Linked DNA regions of Homo sapiens: all the other regions are linked to region 2. The links are contacts of gene promoters, found by promoter capture Hi-C in blood cells and fetal thymus (Javierre and others, 2016). All regions are on one chromosome and are shown on one strand. Each heading gives the region's core, a stretch centred on a gene start or on the middle of the fragment in contact. The rest is flanking DNA. Distances are from core to core; before and after follow the strand shown. Region 1 overlaps SDCCAG8 (SHH signaling and ciliogenesis regulator SDCCAG8). Region 2 holds the start of WDR64 (WD repeat domain 64). Region 3 overlaps CEP170 (centrosomal protein 170).

Evidence for each region. The method cuts DNA at HindIII sites, captures the fragments that hold promoters and counts their contacts. A CHiCAGO score of 5 or more calls a contact.
Region 1: a contact is called between a fragment that was not itself captured here and the fragment with the promoter of WDR64 in region 2, in 6 of 17 cell types (non-activated CD4 T cells, activated CD4 T cells, total CD4 T cells and 3 more). The highest score is 10.0, in non-activated CD4 T cells.
Region 3: a fragment that was not itself captured here is called in contact with the fragment with the promoter of WDR64 in region 2 in 1 of 17 cell types (total CD4 T cells); the score reaches 6.0 in total CD4 T cells.

What each region holds. Positions count from the first base shown.
Region 1 is chr1:243,272,736-243,275,435 of GRCh38, reverse strand. It overlaps SDCCAG8 (SHH signaling and ciliogenesis regulator SDCCAG8), which reads right to left. Exons shown (of 18, transcript NM_006642.5): 4 at 780-893. Among named protein-coding and RNA genes, the nearest start is that of SDCCAG8, 18 kb to the right of the region's middle. The HindIII fragment of the contact is 1,396 bases long and covers 741-2,136 here.
Region 2 is chr1:241,650,978-241,653,677 of GRCh38, reverse strand. It overlaps WDR64 (WD repeat domain 64), which reads right to left and starts at 1,397. Exons shown (of 28, transcript NM_001367482.1): 1 at 1,049-1,397. The coding sequence starts at 1,193. The HindIII fragment of the contact is 1,763 bases long and covers 873-2,635 here.
Region 3 is chr1:243,222,038-243,224,737 of GRCh38, reverse strand. All of the region lies in intron 2 of CEP170 (centrosomal protein 170), which reads left to right. Among named protein-coding and RNA genes, the nearest start is that of CEP170, 32 kb to the left of the region's middle. The HindIII fragment of the contact is 3,709 bases long and covers 1-2,700 here.

The sequences.
Region 1 (2,700 bases), core at 189-2,688, 1.6 Mb before region 2:
ATCTTAAAATGTCAACAATATAATACATAATATCATATACTATATATAAAAACATGATACAAGAGATATCAGTGATTCCTATAAAAATATCATACAATCGAATACACTGATACTAGAAAGAAAGAAAGAGGGAGGGAAAGAAAGAAAGAGAGAAAGAAACAGAAAAAAAAAAGTAAAACACGACATACTTCGGGAAGATGAAAAGGCTCTATTAGCATTAATGACATTAGCAAACTGCACGCAGTTGAGCATATAACCTTCTAGTGTCATAAGCTATATATGATGTGTTTGGTTTCTTGATCATTACTGTCAGTACCCTATGAACCATTCTCATTCAAAGTCAAAGTAAGAGCCTTAATACTGACAGCGGAGAAGAATTGGTCTACCAGTTTAGAATCCCTGATTGCTGTACCACTGCTCCAGTAGGTTGACAAGTATGGGAGAATGATTGGTATTTGTATTCCAAAGCATTTGCCATTTGCTGGGCTACAGCAAGCGGGGTGAGAAGGAAAACTTCTGAAATATGAAAGCATATTATGAAATCATTAGACATAGTAATGAACTACTGGGAAATCAAGCAATCAGAAATGGTATGGTCAAGAGCATCATTCCCAAGTCTGACAAGCTCTTGTGACACATCAGTCTCTCAATCACGTAAGAATAGCAATTGTCAATGTATTGCTACAAACATGAAGATTTATAGCAGCAAATTTTAATACAATCTATAGTTAATATAAGCTTTCATTTATTTAGTTTTAAATTCTTAATGAGAAACTTACCTTGCAGAACTTAACTTCTGCCTCTAAATGATGAATATATTGAGACTGGTCATTAATAGTATGAACAAGGTCGTGCATAGTAGGCATATTGGTTTCCTCATGTTCTAATGACCTCTATGACAAAAAATAAATAAATAAATACATAAATACATAAATTTTAAAAAGCCAAATTAAGCATGTTTGGATTTAGCAAAGAATCAGTTGTTACCTTCTCCATACTCAATTTTGCACTGATGTGATATAAACATAGAATCGATCACAATGTAGCTTATAGTCTTGATATAGTTTGGATGCTTGTCCCCCACAAACCTCAAGTTGAAATGTGGCCCCCAGCATTGGAGGTGGGGCCTGGTGGGAGGTGTTTCGGTCATGATGAATGAATCTTGGTGCTATCCTCATGATAATGAGTTCTTGCTCTGAGTTTTGGTGAGATTTGGTTGTTTAAAAGAATGTGACACCTCTCCCACTTCTTGCTCTGGCTCTCACCACATGAAATGCCTGCTCCCCTTTCACCTTCCACCATGACTGAAAGTTTCCTGAGGCCCTCACCAGAGTGAGATGCCAGTATCACACTTCCTATACAGCCTGCAGAACCATGAGCTGATTAAACCTCTTTTTTAAATAAATTACCCAGCCTCAGGTATTTATTTTTAGCAACACGAGAATGGACTAATACAAATACTTGCTTCTCTATCCTATAAATTCCACAAATACACAAGATTCATGGATGTGAATATCATTTTTTTTAAAGATGGATGGTGAAAGTGGTTATAAAAAGCACATATAGTGAATGGAAAAATGCTGGGGTAGCAGTAGTATAACTGGCTTGGAATAAACTATTTTAACAAATTGGAAAAACAACATTCCATTCAGTAATGCTGAGATACAAGGGACAACTCTCTCCAAGAAACTGCCATGGAAGAGGATTTGCTAGCTAAAACTGCAGCAGCTCCGTGAAGGAGAGATTCTTTAGGAAGCGTTTGATGCCAAGCCAGTGTCAATGCGATGAAATTCCATCTCAAAAAAGATACATTAGCAAAATGTAGTTTTTGATTTTTGGCTCTAGTATTGAAGGCAATTCAAGTGTATGGTGTTCTGGAGCATAGAACCTCCAAGAGTAGAACCCTAAAGTAGAGACACACTGCATTGAGGGGTCCAACGAAGAGATTTCAAAAAAACGCTAATGCTATTTTAGCTCTGTAGCATTCCTGGAACTGACTGTTAATGTATAGCTTACCTTATCCTAAAATAGTTTGTAAAATCATATACCCATCACATAATTTTTTTTTTAAAGGATGAGGAAATCAGGAAAAGGTAAAACAAGGGTCAACCAGTTAAACAAAGCCAGAGGAAAGCTTGAAATGAGGCACAGTGTCTGTTTCTCAGCCACTCTCTTTCTCAGCACAGCAGACATTTTAAATGATAATCAAGTACCAGCTATCATGGCAGAATAAAATAAAATAGAGCTTTGGTTTTTTGGTATATTTAAGAAATTTAAAAACCAAAGTAACTCTAATTAAATGAATTATCTGTCCTGAGTAGAAATCAAACAATTATAATCATCCTCCATTAATAGCAATAGGTTCAGAAGATAGGCAAATATAAATTACTACTATGAGTATACAGGAGGAAGTCAATGTGAAAAATAAAAAGCTCAAGCCAATATTGTATGAAAAATGTTCACATGAAATCATTTGTGTCTACTTTGAAGGGCTTTAGTTTAGATATCTACATTTTAAGACAATAAGTAATAACTTTTTTTCCATCTCAACAGTGCCTCAGTTTTACTCTCAATATATGCATGTATTTCTAATATGTTATACTGGCTATGAAAGTGCATTCTAAAGGTATAATCTTAAAAAGCTAATTATTACTATTATGGTTTATAATTATTACATGTAGGCTGTATACATATAGAGTC
Region 2 (2,700 bases), core at 148-2,647:
CAGCTACTTGGGAGGCTGAGGCAGGAGAATCACTTGAACCTGGGAGGCAGAGGTTGCAGAGAGCCGAGATCGCACCATTTCACTCCAGCCTGGGCAATAGGAATGAAACTCCGTCTCAGAAAAAAAAAAAAAAAGAAAAGAAAAGAAAAGAATTTGGGTAACTTGGGCAAATGATTTATCTTCAGCTCCCATTTTTTCCACAAATAAAATGAACATAATGACATTGATTAACATGACTATAAATTATTAAATACTATTCAATTAATACCAGCTTGGGTTTGAACACCCAAAGTCAAGATTTTCACTTACAAATTACTATGCAGCCTGGCACACTCAGAGGCTGGCTATACTATCCCTTTAGCAATTATATGGGCTCTGCTCCTTTCATTGCAACAGCAGGGTTTGTTCTGTTAGTCTTTCACTCTGCCATGTAGCTTTATTTTTCACAGCTGTCCTCAATACGCCAAAGCTGTACACTACACCACTCCCCTTGAATCTTGTCTATGCACTGGCATCTCTGCTGCAAATCCTCCTGTAAGACCACTGTCCACCATATTCTCCTTAGCTTGCATCCTCAAGATCATTCCTGCCTAGAGATATGGAGAGTGGCCAAGACAATGGAATCATGGTGAGGCAGGAAGCTGCACTTCTTATGAAAGTCTTTATGGTCTCATGATATCTTTAGGCTAAGAAAAAGCAGTGCTATACATTACTGAGCATCCCAGGTCAACCAGTGAGCCATCAAATGGCAGCGTCTACAGAAGAACACTGGACGTCATTTAATCCAATCCCATAGTTTTACAATTGAAGCAACTTCGGTTCAGAGAAGTAAAAAAAAAAAACAAAAACAAAAACAAAACAAAACAAAAGCTTCCTCATGTCCGCTTTGTTATTTAGGGACAGAGAAAGAACAAGAACTGAGGTCTTCATCCCCTTTCAGCACCCATTCTTTCACATTAAGCTCTGATGCTTCTCTCTGATGGCTTAAAACATTTTCCAGTTCTAACCAACAGACCCAATTGGACTATCGTGTAATCACTGATCTTACCTTCTTTATGGATAAATAAGCCTGCTCTTTCATCTCTTTTCTGGGCTGCTGTTTGTTCAACCAATTTTTCAAACCTGTTCAAAGCCTTTTTGAAATTGCTCATCTGAAGTGCCATGTTGAGACGCTTTTCCTTCCTGATATCCATAGGGACATAGGGGATCTTTTACTTCTGTACAGAAAGAATACTGCAAGTTTACCAATTTGGAAAACTTTCCAGTTGTTACAGTGCCTCCCTGCTGTCTCAGTTTTTGCCCTAGGTCTAATTCCTTTGATCTTAAAATCCCATAGTGCGGGTAGGAGTAAGAGTTGCCACTAGGATGTTAGCAGGGAGGAAAGCTGATTTAGGTCTGATGCATTTCATACAGACAAACATTTCAGTAAAAATCCTGACCTCACAATGTCATCAGTGTCCTTCATAGGGTCCTCATTGCATCATAATATCTCTGTAACATCCTACTTCCTTCATAAGGAGGAGATTGAGATATTTTTTTCCCCACAGACTGTGTGTGTGTGTGCGCGTGCACATGTGTGTGTTGTGTATACTGCTTGAGAGGGAAAAGGAATGAGTAAATAACAAGTAAGAAAACTGGGTAATACTTTCTCCCTCGTGTATCTCTTCTCACCTCAAACCTTTTGCCTTCCTCACAATACCGCGGAAAGTAAAGTTTGGCCAGGCACGGCGGCTCATTCTTGTAATCCCAGCACTTTGGGAGGCCGAGGTGGGTGGACCACCTGAGGTCAGGAGTTCAAGACCAGCCTGGCCAACATGGTGAAACCCCCGTCTCTACTAAAAATACAAAAATTAGCTGGATGTGGTGGCGGGCACCTGTGATCTCAGCTACTCAGGAGGCTGAGGCAAGAGAATCACTTGAACCTGGGAGTCAGAGGTTACAGTGAGTTGAGATCACACCACTGCACTCCAACCTGGGTGACAGAGTGAGACTTCCTCTCAAAAAAAAAAAAAAGTAATATTCACACTTATTCTTGCCACTGTACTGGATATGGAAATTCGAACTTCTAAAGATGAAATGTATTTCAGCACCTGTCATTTCTACCACAAACATTTTTAGAGGTCATAGGGAATACAAATGCTCTTCTTCCTTTGTGCATTGTCCTTCGATTGAAATAATAAAGTGAGCCAAGGATAAGGAAGGAGTGGCTTCTGATTATGAGGACAGCTTTTCAAGGTAAGAGGTCAGATGAATTAGAAGAGGCCTTTCTGCACATCTCCTTCCCAGTCATTGCAATCTCCAATCCGACTTAGTCCAAATGCTATTGACTCCGGTTTTCCAATTTTCAACTTTTTATGGGAAGGAGAAGTTGTTTAATGTTTCTCAACAATTAGTTAACTTCCTATGGCTTAGGTGAGTTAGATAAATTTCCTACCCCTTGGTAGTCCATCTTTTAAAACATTCTTCAAGAACTTGCATTCAGAGATGAAGCAGATGGCATTTCAGAGCACCTCCAATTCCAGTACTGTCTTCTTGGTGTCCACCTCTAACTATCTGTTAGGAGAGCGCAGTAAGATTTTATTTAAAGAAAAATCCCCCAACCCCATTTGTTTCTCCTCCTTTTTCCTTTAAAGCTTTCAAACCACTGTACAGTGATGTCTGGAGAACCACTCTTCCTACAATTCTAATGCATTCACCATT
Region 3 (2,700 bases), core at 184-2,683, 1.6 Mb before region 2:
ATATTTAAGGTATACAACGTGATGTTATGTGATACACACAGATAGTATAAAAGTTACTGTAAGTTACTCCAAGTAAAATGGATCCTCAAGAGTGCACAGCCTCAGGAAGAGGGTCTCTATAGGGGTAAGAATCAGATGGAGGAGGCATAGATTCTTACAGGGAAAACACTATAAAACAAGTTCATCCAACCTGAGGCCCAGGACGGCTTTGAATGCGGCCCAGCACAAATTCATAAACTTGCTTAAAATATCATGAGGTGTTTTTTTTGCAATTTTTTTTTTTTTTAGTTCATCAGCTGTTGTTAGTGTATTTTATGTGTGACCCAAGACAATTCTTCTTCCAGTGTGGCCCGGGGAAGCCGAAAGATTGGACACCCTTGCTATAAAAGGACAGGGACTGGAGTCTTTCATTCTTACCAGAAGTTTAAGTAACAGGAAAAAAAGGGCCTGGTCAAAATTGCCTATCTTTGCAGTTTTAAGCTCAGATCAGCTAAGGTTTTCCCATTAGTATCAGAAACGTGATTAAGTTAGCAGTCTTTGTTAGGATTTAAATTATGTATTTCTGAGAGATTTTTATTAAATTTTCATTGAAATATCCAAATGGGTTGTGAATATCAAGTTGTCATGCACCTTCTGGTTCAGTTTAATCTAGAGGAAATGTGAATTTGATTATATAGAAATGAAAACAGTTTAATGCTTAAGTGGTTAGATATCCATTACATATTCTTCCTATTCCCTCAGTTTTCCTTGACTCGGTCACTAGATGTATTATGTTCTGTAATCTTGGTCTTCTGCTTAATTCCTGTCATGGGTGCTGAAACACATTGATACTTTATATACATTTCATAATAACTAAAAACATAGGAATTTTTTTTTCATTGGCTGCTTTTTTAAAAAAATAGTTACACAAATGGGATTGTCTTATTCTGTGAGTACTAAACTGATCTTCTTTGCCTTGAGTTCCTGACTACTCTTCTTGAATTGTTACTGTCTTTATTAAACAAACAAACGATGTATTCTTGTGATCCCACATAACAGGCCCACTCCTCACTCCCTAATCCCCAGAGTTGTAATGGCATCTCACTCGACTCAGTGGACTCTGTTGTTCTCTTAGGTCTTAAGTGTGCTCTGTCTTTTGCTGTAGGTGTTTATGTACCGTCAGTGTTCACCATAAGCAGTTGGAGGGCGGGGTACATTGTAGATTAAGGATATTCCAGATTTCAAACAAGTTGTTCACTTAGTGAAGCAGCCTGTCCTAAATTACTTCCTCCCCAAATCACTTTTTCTCAATATCCCTCATCTGTGTTTATCACACTCCTTCGAAAGCCACCATTCTCTGGCTCCATGAGTAGCCATTTGACTCCTTTAGTCCTATATCTAATGGTAACATTTCACTTTGCTTTGGAATTTGCCTTTTCTCAACTCTAATTTAGATTTTTTTCTTTGAATTTCAGTCCATTGTCCAAAGGATTTCTGCCCTTTTCCTATGTACTCTTTTCCTCAGAGAGAGATTATTTATGAGGATCCATTCAGTATTTATTGAGAGCCTACATGTACTTGAAATCTCACTTCTCTTAACAACATTTGGAGGTTTTATCCTTAGACTAGATCAACTTGATACATCAACAATATGGTGAAATTATTTTGCTGAGTGGTGCGTTGTTGCTTCTTGCCAACTTAAGAACTGAATTTAGTATTTCATTAGTTTAACCAGATGAATAAAAATTCAAAGTAATGAAAACAAAAATGAATTTTAAGCAATTTTTAGATTTAATGCAGGAGTTTTTTTAAATCTCAAGTTGGTCCACCCTCAAGTCTCTAGCAATTAATCACTTCACCTTTAAGTTGTCCTACTGGTTGCTGTTTCTAGCGGAGGCTTCTGCTCCTGGCAAGCTGTGATTCTCTCTGTATTTGCTTGTCTCTCTACTTTTCAGGGTGGTAATTTGCCTTGTGACCTCAGGTCTCTGAAAAACTAAGATGAGTTTTTGGTTTTCAGTTTGTTCAACATTTTTCTTATTATGAAGATGGGAGCGATGACTTCAGATTCTTTCCATGTTGGACCAAAAATTGGAAGTCATGTCTGTTCCCCATTTTTGATACTCTCTTTGCTTTTAGTATACCAGGGTTCACACAGTAACCCCGTAATACATGGTGATCAAGTTCAGATTCACTGGTTCACAGACTGTTTCTTCTGTGACTATAATGATATTTCCTTTCAATACCAATTTCCACAGGCTTATCGTTCTGCTTTTGGGTGCTTCCATCTGCAGACAACTTACTAAGCTCTGGAGAGAGACAGAGAGAGAGAAAACTTTAAAAGAAACTTAAAAGCAATTTTCAAAAACCACAGTTTGCCATTAAAATACCTTTCTTTTGACTTTCAGTCCCTTTCCCTCTTAGAGCTGTCCCGTGAATTCCAGTTTTAGAGCCCATATTTTAAATGAAGATAATTTTGTTCTGAAACATGTCATATTGTGTCCCTTTTCCTCTAAATCTTTGGACTCTTTGAATAGTTTATGCTCATTTTTTGTTTTGAAAGAAGAAAATCCTACAAGGTAAATGTTTTTTACAATAAGATATGTAAAACATGGTAAAATTATAATTCACATGATTTCTCTATAACAGTTTTAAATTTAAAAAAATTAAGTTAATACATTCAGCGAAGTCAGCTGATGTAAATTCTTAATAGAACATGTGAAT